Linked DNA regions of Homo sapiens: region 1 is linked to region 2. Evidence: promoter capture Hi-C in human tissues and cell types (Jung and others, 2019). All regions are on one chromosome and are shown on one strand. The core of a region is centred on a gene start or on the middle of the fragment in contact, and the rest is flanking DNA. Distances in the headings are between cores, read along the strand shown.

Region 1 (5,022 bases), core at 937-3,436, 1.1 Mb before region 2:
GTGTGCACAGTCCTGGGCCTCCTTCCAAAATCAGAAAAGCAGAAGATGTAAACAAATCGGAGATGGATCTCACCCCAATAATCACTCACCTGACATCTTGAATTTTTTTCTCTTTTGACAGTACATGCTTTCTTTCCATGCCCTTTGATGAAATTTGGAGTTGTTGCCAGTTGAAGGAAGATAAATATTGTCTGGATTCTTTGTGGCGAATCATCTAAGTATGGCAAAACTGTGCATTTTCTAGACATTCCAAACTTTAAGAATAAAAAAGAAAGTAACTCATATTTTAAGTGACAATATTATCAGCCTGAATATCCTGATGTGTGGGATTAGAGCGATAAACCTTGGAATGCAAAGAAATATTACTAAGAATTCTGTTTTTATGGCCACAAAAAGTAGCAGTGTATAATTTCCCCTGTGATCCATTCGGCTGACATATACAAAAACCTGAGTATGCTCTAATGGCTTGGAATCCTTCCCCTGCTGTTACCACAATTTAAAAGAATGAGGACTGCTCTCCATTTGTTGCAGCAATCAGGAAAGCCTTTGTCACATACCCGAACTTGGGTGGAGGCCGGCCTGGCACACAGAGTGATCAGTAAGACGACCTGTATTAGGCTTTCCTCCAGGTATAGGGGGGATGAGCAGTGGCTGACACTAGTGGCCACTGTCTACCTGACCAGCCACTCAGGAAGGTTCTACCTTGCTTTGCAGAAGTGGGCCAACCCATGAGCCACTGGGGAATGAGAGCTGTGAAAATTGAGGGTTGAAGCAAATCAACTCCCTATAGGCATTTAAAAAATAGCAGACATATTATTTCACTATAAGCCAGGGTGCCCAGGAAAGTTCAGTTCCTTTTTGAATAGCGGGTAAGTCCAGCACAGAAAGTTCCTCTAGAGGGCCTAGAGCTTAACCTGCCCCACCATTGCAGGATCTTCATTCTTGCCGGGCTCTGCTCTGCCTCACTCATTCTCATTAGGGCCACTCTGTCCTTGATGCCTTAATGCTCCATTTATTCATCAAGTAGGGGAGGAGTCTAGACTCTAAGATGAAAAAGGCATGATATGACAATATCTTGAGGTCTGAAAAAAAAGCCACCCAGGAATCATTCTCACTAGAGCCATAGCTTACTGCATAAAAACAAACAGGTAGAAAAGTAAGTGCCAAGAATTCCAAAGAAGAAAAAGTAAATAAATTCCTTAAATCAAAATATGTACTTATGATATTAGTCTGTTTCATGAACATATTCCCCATAAAACTCTCCCCTGCAGGGGCACTGGATATGGCTGTTTATCTGGGATTCTTTCATCCACGACCCACATTGTTTTCACCAAACCTCCCATTGACCAGACGTTCTCAAAATCCCCATGGCAATGTAAACCCTAAAGGGCAGGGAATTTTATCTGTTCTGCTCACTAATGACACCTAGGAACTCTAAGCATGCCTGATACACAGTGGTTACTTAATCACTACTTGTTGAATAAATGAATAAAATAATAATAACATCTGCAGTGTGATAAGATGTAACAGGTCGCAAAGCACATGCACATCTATTTCCTCACTTACTCTCCACAGTAATCCTGTGAGGTGGGGTTTTATTCTTATCTTCATTTCATAGGAGAGGAAGACAGTGTTCGGGTACTGCCTAAAGTAGCTATACTAGTAGTTCAGCATGTACTAATTGGGAGGCAATTCCAGCTCATCCAGTTCCCTTCCCATGCTTCCTCCTCCTCCTCACAACCAAGTGTGGCCTGGCTGACACATCCCTATGGCTTTGTTTCAGGTGGGTCTTTTTCGCAAATCAGGAGTGAAGTCTCGAATCCATGCCCTTCGCCAAATGAATGAAAACTTCCCTGAGAACGTCAACTATGAAGACCAGTCTGCTTATGATGTGGCGGATATGGTGAAACAGTTCTTCCGGGACCTCCCTGAGCCTCTTTTCACCAACAAGCTCAGTGAGACCTTTCTCCATATCTATCAGTGTAAGTGGAAATAATGAGATTGGTGTTCTCGTGGGCATCCTTCCACTTTAATGAAAATAATTCCCTATAGATTGAGTTTTAATTATACGAATAATACATCAATCCATAAAGATGTATGTAATCCTGCTCTCCTCTACGGAAGTAACTTTTGCTCAAAGTTTGATATGGAAATCCACAAGCCATTTTTTTATGCATTTGAAAATACCTTTTTGACATCAAAATATTCCTTCTCAAAAGAGTTTTGTGTATGATCTAAAACAAACTTTCAATACATTTACAAAAATTTAAAATGAAAAAGGGACACAATAGAAGTTGTTTTATATATAGGTATTTATTAAAACTTATTCAATTTTTTAAAAAAGTAAGCATTTCTTTGGGATATAGGAAATTCAAAGTGACATGAATTAAAATGACAGGAAATAAAAACAAATGTATTTTAGCACAAAGTATCTTCATTGGTGAAAAGTAAGCAAACCAAATCAAGTCTTAAGCTTAAATAAACTTATTTATATTTTCACTTGGATTTTTTTTAATAATGTTAAGTTCTCAGCAAAGCCTGTATAATTAAAATAATCCCTGAAAATAACAATTGTTGATTAAGAAGCATATCCTACTATAAGTGGTTGCAATGGGGGTATTAGAAATAAACACATGGGCTGGGCATGGTGGCTCACGCCTGTAATCCCAGCACTTTGGGAGGTGGAGGTGGTTGGATTGTCTGAGGTCAGGAGTTCAAGACCAGCCTGGCCAACATGGTGAAACCCCATCTCTAACTAAAAGATACAAAAATTAGCCAGGCATGGTGGCGGGTGCCTGAAATCCCAGCTACTCAGGAGGCTGAGGCAGGAGAATCACTTGAACCCAGGAGACGGAGGTTGCAGTGAGTGGAGATTGCACCACTGCACTCCGGCCTGGGTGACAGAGCGAGACTCCATCTCAGAAAAAAAAGAATGAAATTAAACACGTGACTCTTTGCTAGATATGACAATGTTAACATTATGAATTATTTTGATGGTCCAGATCCCAATTCATGGGGGAAAAAAGCCATTTGGCCCATGGACTTTGAGTTTTGAGTTTTCAGCAAAATATGCCTGAAATGGACCTTGACATGGACTTGATTCAATTTGAAGAATATCCATGCTATAGAGAATTCTGTATAAAATGTGTTTAAGGAGTCCATGATACTGCAAACTCAGAAAGGATTGTAATCAGAACCACTTGTGAAAACAGATTAAGGTGGCAACCCACTAAGTAAATATTAGTTTTTCAAAGTAAGTAGATTAAGTTAAGTTAATGGTACAAGTTGCTAGAGCCCAAACAGGGAGTTCTTGATGTTGTTGCTGTGAGAGGTTGAACTACATTTTTCAATTAAGTCTCCCTTATGGTTTGGAAGTATCAGATATGAGTCTTTTACATTTAATCAGTTCTTGGATTAAAGTTGACACTAGTCTAAGGCTAAAGCCACATTACTTTCAAGAAATAAATGTCTTTGGCCCTTTCTGAGTCACAAGCAAGAAGCCAGATCAAAGCAGGCTTTATTTTAGCTGAGCAAACATTTACAGAGCGTGACTTCTGTACTGGGCACCGTGCTTAGCATGGCAGAGCATATGGATGGATGAGACTCACTCTCTGATCTTAAGGATCTTACAATTGAGGGAGATGAGGCATGAACACAAAAAACTCCAACACAACAAATTTGGAGAATTTCCATAGAAAGGTTACAAAGAAAAGTCCAAGGAGGGAGAGATGAAGAATGAGGGCTTCATGGAGGAAGTGACAACTGAAGGCTGAGATATGTGAGGAACACATTTTGGGTACCTGCTCGGCAGATAGCATAAGCAGAAGTCAGGAGAGCCCAGTGTATTCATCTGGCTTGCATGTATGGCAGACATACAAAGTGACACCAAATGACACTGAAAAATGACGCTGGGGCCATAAAGGAAGGACATTGAATATTAGGGCAAGGAGTGTATGCTTGATTCATTAAGCATTGGGGAACCGTCGGGTGTTGTTGAGGGACTTACCAGTTACAGTGTTCTCAGCTGTAAAGACAGAACCAAATATCCAACGAACAGTCATTTGAACAGTCATTTAAACAATAAGTACATTTTATTATCTCACATAATTCCAGAGTTGGGTATCCCGCAGCTCAGTGATGCCAGGGCTAAAGTCAGCCTCTATTGGCTTTCCCTTTAAGGTCACAATATAATTGTCACAACTTATAATTATCACATCTTCACAAAATCACATTCCAAGACAAGAAGAGAGTGACCACGCTTCTCTTTGGCCATGTGTCTCTTTTTATCAGGGTCATACATCTTACAGAAGCTCTCAGCATTTTTCTTGGCCCTCAGGCAGAAGTGGTTTACAGCTTCCCCCTTAAACCAAACACTGGAAAGAAGACCTGGGTTACCAGTTTTGGTTTAGGGCAGCATGGTTCATCCCTGGGTCTGAGGGAGACACCCATTTCCCTGAGTACATTGCAGCTCACACCTGAGCAGAACATGTGTTTTCTTAATGAGGAAGAAGGGAAGAATGGGTATTGAGTTGAGCAGGTGGCCAGCCTTGTATCTGCTACAGGGAGAAAGTCCATCAGCACAGTGTCATTGACCCAGGAATCTGGAAGTGGTGCACAAGAGGCACCGAACTGGACGAGCATGGAGACTCAGGGAGTCAGCATACTAATCAAGGTTCCAAATTACCTGCAGGGACTTCCAGCAGTGAGACTGGAGAGAAGATATTCCATGCATAGACCCTAGAGTCAAAGTTTCCAAACTGCTACTGTGGCAGAGAGGAACGGTTCCTCCTCCATTTCTCCAGAGAAGTTCTGTTTTCAGCTATGCCACTTCTTGGATTTTTGTCAAATGATGAACTAAATTGGAGTGTTGGATGGGTAATGAAAATATTTGAGTCCTACCCATCTGGAGGAGGGAGAAGGATAGAAGAGTCAAAGACAACCATAAGGCTTTAAGGCCTGATGATTGAAAGAATGTGGAAATTGGAGGGGAGAAGGGTTCAGAATCCACAGGAATCTGAATTT
Region 2 (5,510 bases), core at 675-3,174:
TGTAGCCCCACAGCCTGGCACATAGTAGGTATTCAATAAATATTTGCTGAATGAATTGGAAGAATTCAAAATTGTATCACAGATATTCTCAAAGTAGAAATGAACAGTCATTTTGAATCATTTCCTGAAGTATGTATGTGGGGAGAGGAGTTTAGGAAGGGTGGAGAGAATATATACTTTATCTAGAGTGATTTGAAAATAGACAAGGGGAGAGAAATTTTTAAAAGAAATCCCATTGGCCTCAGTATTGTCACAACATAATTTTCTATTTAATGATGCAATGACAAAAATTGATGGAAGAAAACAGTCTGGTCTTGGAATAATCAAATATGTTTAAAAACCACGTACTGATGTCAACTCAAAAGTGAGTTTTTTCAGTTATTGGAAAACTGCTCCATAAAGAACACTGTATGTCAAATTCTTTTCATTAATCAAAGAGCAGATAGACAAAGGAAGATTCATCCTTGAGTGTAAAGTATTATAAAAATAATGAGTCCAAGTTAAATGATTTATAGCTATGACAAGTAAAGAATGCTGTTTGGGCAACAGTATTACTCCCAAATGGCTTCCCACTTGTAGAAAAACAGCTTCAGACAAGCCCCATAGTGTATACAGTGGTGCAAAATGACCTGGAAAAAATGGTTTCTATGGATATCATTTAGAGATGCACATCCCTGAATACCTTAAGGCTGAAGGTACTTTAGCTCTTTTCCTCAAAGCAATTGCAGCACAGGTTCTCCTGCCCAGGTTTTGTTTATATAAGAACAATCTTGGCCACAGGTCATTTGTGTAGGAGACAATTAATCACTAGCTCTTTGAGCACAGGTAGGTTAATCAGTATGCACATAATACAATATTAAAATTTTCACGGGGAAAAAATTTTTTTATTTAAAACAATAAAGCATCAGTAATACCTGCTGATCTTTTATCCAAAGCAAGTACAAAGGCTGTTAGTGAAATAGAGAAGACTTTCTTTTTAAACAGTTCGGAAAATACAAGGCATCATTGATCACCTGAAGGCCTCATTTTAATTTGATTCCAGATCCACGGCAGCTTAGAGGTTGTCTTTTTGAAATAGCGTATTGCTAAAATCCTTATGTAGGTCAGAAATGGAACTTCAGGAGCCATCATATTCTGCTATCCTAATAAATAATTAGGGTCAGAACCTCACTTGTTTATGTTTCAAAAAAGCACAATATTTGGACTATAGCAAACATCAGGATTTTTAAAAATTCAAATATTAAATGGCATTCAGAACATCATCCACATGGAAGAGGGAGAGATGAAATAAATCTGCAGATGCCTCTATATACAAAAAGGATGTCCTAGGTTTTGGACTATTAAATACTTTTCTTTCTTCAGACAATACCCTAAAAAAACAATTACAAAGTACTCTGAAACCCTGCCACACCCCTTTGATTAAATCACACTTCACAAAATATTTAGAGAAAGCCTGAACAAATCAAATAAACATCAAGGCAGGAAATGCAGCCAGGAATGCCTGATCCTGAGCTCCCCCAGAGTCTGAAGGGCTGCCTCACTTGAAAATTTAATCAAACACAATCTACTGTAATTCCATTGCAGCCTTTGCACTTAAGGAAAGCTAGTTCAGTCTCTGACATTTTGATTTTCACAGCAGATGGGAGCAAAAAAAGAAAGAAAGAAAGAAAGAAAAAGAAAGAAAGAAAGAAAGAAAGAGAAAAGAAAAGAAAAGAAAAAAAGAAAAACTTCCGCGGCTCACAAACATATGTGTCCAGTTGAGATTTTCTGTCTCCAGCCTTATGCAACATCCAGCAAACAAACAAACAAAAAGGTTATTTTCTATTACTCACTATTACTCCAGGATTTCAGTAAATATTTGATACTGATCTCAAAGAAGCCCGAATCCTGCTGGCTGGCCATGTCTGCGGCATACAAAGAGGCTGGGAGGACGGGCAGCGGCCGGGAGCAGGTACCGGGCGTGATGCGCCTGTCACAGGTTGTGATGTCAGCGCGGGGTCAGGCGCCCAGAGGCAGCTCTGCGGATCCACCTCCGGCTCCGGCCGGGAGTGCTCATCTAAAGGACACGGCGGAGCAGAGAGAGATGCTCGGCCGCTCCTCCTCCTCCGGGTCCAGGACTTGCTTCTTATTTGCTGGACGCTGATCTCCCTGCAGCCCTCGGAGGCGGCGGCCGCGCTGCTTTCATTTCGGGGCTGTCATCACCAGAAACGCCGGCTGCCGGCCGCCCACCAGCTCGGCTCCAGCCAGGTACGCAACCGAGGAAGACCCCACCTGAACTGGGATCGGCTTTCTTCTGGGAGGGAGGGTTTCTAGGCCGGCCTCCCTGACGCGGTGCAGGCAGCCTCCGGCCCACACGGCCGCCGCGGGGCTAAGGGATGGGCCGGGAGCGCCGCCCCCTGCCCCTGCCCACTGTCTCAACCTGAGCCGCGGCTCAGTCTCCGCCTAGGCTGCGGGAGGAATTTCCCAGCTTCTGCGGATCCTCTCTCTTCAGCAAGGCTTCCCGTGAGCGGCCCGGGTGTGCTCTGGCTGCTGCTTCCCCTTGTGTCTGTCCCTGAAATAAACACAACTGCAGCACGCTGCGGTAAGCAAAGCTGCAGCCTTGCATCTGGTTGCAGCGACGTTTTGAAAAACCCCATCCGTCAGCCTCGTTGCAGTAAAGAGACTCAACAAGAGGACGCTTGTCTGGGCTTTTTCTTCCCTGCCTTCCACACGCATGGTGGTATCTGCATTTTTACTTTTCCCTCCCAGAAATGCAGTCTTTTCAAGGGGCATCGGAGCCCGAACGTGTGCACTCTAAGGGGACAGTACACACTGCTTAGTTGGCTTGTTTTTGTAATGTCACACACTCCACAATGGATCTTATTCTCAAACCTCTCATTTCTAAGACTCACTAAGCCCAGTGAAGCTTATTTTATTTGTATGAAAAGGATAAGAAGCAAAAGCATTAGATTCCTTGCTCTACAATGGCTCTTGATTTCATGAATTCTTGATATCAGGTGTCCTGATTTTGGTTAGCTTTGTTTCACATTATCATTTAGCTTGACCAGGGGATTAAATAAGAGTATTATATTTTAATAATGACAGGTTATGTTGGAAGAGGTGGGATTTGGCCAACTATCTCATAAACCACAGGATCCTTCCCAAGTCCCAGTACATTCATGATTAATGTTGTCTAAAAAACAGAAAAAAGTAATAAACCATGTTAATAAGTATTTAACATAGCAAATGTTGGGCTAACTCCCCAAATCAACACACAAACAGGACTTCCTAGATTAACAGTTCATTTTAAAAATGGAAGGGAAAGACTACAATGTACTTTTATTGTTAGGACAAAGAATTTTTAAAATTCAACACTAAATAAAACTTCTAGAACTATGTTCTGAAAGGCCCTAAGATACTTCATCAATACAATTAGTTTTTCAAACTCATTACACTTACCCAAATGGCAAGCACTCAATCACTCAGATTTCCAACTCCACTTATACACTTTATTCTGATGAAATCTCTCACCAGATTGACTTCTTTTTAATTCATGTGCATACTAGAGTTGCTGAACTGATTTTATCACTTGTACTTTGAATGTATGGATTCTAGGTAAAATAAGACCCAAAGGTTTTACCTTGAAACAATTATTATATCTGAAAATAAATTTCATACCTACGCCCATCTGATGCTTGCCAAGACTCAGATGGCAGTGAATGAACAGGTAGGCTGCACAGTGCCCTGCGATTAACGATGGCATGGGCTCTCAAGGCAGGGCCCCATGTTCGCTCCTGGCACCAGCCCTTACTAGCTTTGAGCCCCAAAGTAAGCTATTAACTTTGCTAAGCCTTCGTTTCCTCATCTGTAAAATGGGGTTGTACCTTCTTCCTATAGTTGTTGGAAACAATAAATAACACTATGTATGAAAGGGGCTCAGCATAGTATCTTGCCCATAGTTAACACTTCATTAAATTTTAGCTACATTGATTTTTTTTTTTTTTTTTTTTTTGAGACAATCTCACTCTGTCGCCTGGGCTGGAATGCAGTGGTGCAATCTTGGCTCACTGCAACCTCTGCCTCCCGGGTTCAAGCGATTCTCCTGCCTCAGCCTTCTGAGTAGCTGGGGTGACAGGCATGCGCCACCATGCCCGGCTAATTTTTGTATTTTTAGTAGAAATAGGGTTTCACAGTGTTGGCTGGGGTGATCTTGAACTCCTGACCTCAGGTGATCCACCTGCCTTGGTCTCCCAAAGTACAGACATGAGCCACTGCGCCTGGCCCATTCATTCTTATTATGAATCCTTAGTGACTCTAGAATAGAACTTTTTTTTAAAAAGCTAAATACTTTTTTTTCTTTACTCTTTATGTGGTTTAAAAGATATATTACTTTTGAACACCAGTGGTAACTATTTGGGGAGAGCAAGTTGGAGACATTTAAAATCAGTTGCAATAAGCAAACATGCTATTGTATATTGTTACTCAAATATATAGAGATTCTCTCTGTTGACTTTATTTTAAAAAATTTTTAACTGGCTTTTTAAAGTTTTCAATACTTAAATACATAAGTTTTCAGTATTTAACTACTATAAACATACTAACTTGCTGAGAATGCCACTCATATATATTTCAAGGGAAACGGTCATAAAAATGTAAATGCTACTTAGAAAATAATGTTTTCAATGCCATCTAGCTTTCACTGTGAAGAGTGAATCAGCATCTAAGAGCCCAGTTTCTGTCTCTTAGAACCTGAAATCTTGTCCAGTGTATGCTTTTTCTTCATTCGAGTACCTTTAAAGAGGACATATATTGTAAAAGAACAGAAAAGGGCTTTTGTTTTGTTGAAAGGCCTGCAAATCAAATAGAATGACACCCGCTGCAAGCTGAGTTGAAACATTTATCCTTTTGTCTTCTCTCTCTCTGGGGGGGCATAAAAAAATTAGTCAGAAGAGGCACCTGGACAGAGGTACTTTAAAATGCAACAGTAAAATCTGAATGTGTTCCTGGCTTGCTAGTGACTTCAGTTATGATTTAAGAGGACCTAAAGCTATCTCAGCTTTCATACCTGTAAAAATGAGGGATCCTTCCTTAAAAATATTAGGAGAACATACAATGAATTGTCAAGCATGGAATTAGGCATAGATGTTGGGGACTGAGTGAAAGATAACAGGAAAAGTGGAAGGCCTTAGAAAATGGTATCAAAGAGTGGGGAAAAAGTCGGAAAGTGGCCTGACACAAGTGATGACACTAAATGACACCATCTACATTTGTTGAATATAAATATTGTAGTTAAAAAAATATATATTTTTATATTTAATACTCACCTCAAACCTATGAAGTAAGTACTATTATTAGTCCCATTTTACAGATGAGAAAATTGAGGCTTAAGGAGGCATAAAATAAGGTCAAACTCATATAGCTAGTAAAATTTAGGTCTATTTTAGACCCTGAGTCACTTGTCATAACTTTGTTATTTATTTATTTTTTTAAAAATCACAAGCAAGGTGAGAATCATGGTTACCAAGTTCTTT

What was found. The method cuts DNA at HindIII sites, captures the fragments that hold promoters and counts their contacts. A contact is called where the count stands out against the background at its distance.
Region 1: a fragment that was not itself captured here is called in contact with the fragment with the promoter of FRY in region 2 in 1 of the 25 tissues and cell types used here (aorta).

The regions. Positions count from the first base shown.
Region 1 is chr13:33,115,025-33,120,046 of GRCh38, reverse strand. STARD13 (StAR related lipid transfer domain containing 13) reads left to right here. Exons shown (of 14, transcript NM_178006.4): 8 at 1,784-1,982. Among named protein-coding and RNA genes, the nearest start is that of KL, 100 kb to the right of the region's middle. The HindIII fragment of the contact is 8,860 bases long and covers 1-5,022 here.
Region 2 is chr13:32,028,188-32,033,697 of GRCh38, reverse strand. It overlaps FRY (FRY microtubule binding protein), which reads right to left and starts at 1,924. Exons shown (of 61, transcript NM_023037.3): 1 at 1,833-1,924. The coding sequence starts at 1,902. It overlaps FRY-AS1 (FRY antisense RNA 1), which reads left to right and starts at 2,059. Exons shown (of 4, transcript NR_103839.1): 1 at 2,059-2,247. The HindIII fragment of the contact is 5,087 bases long and covers 1-4,726 here.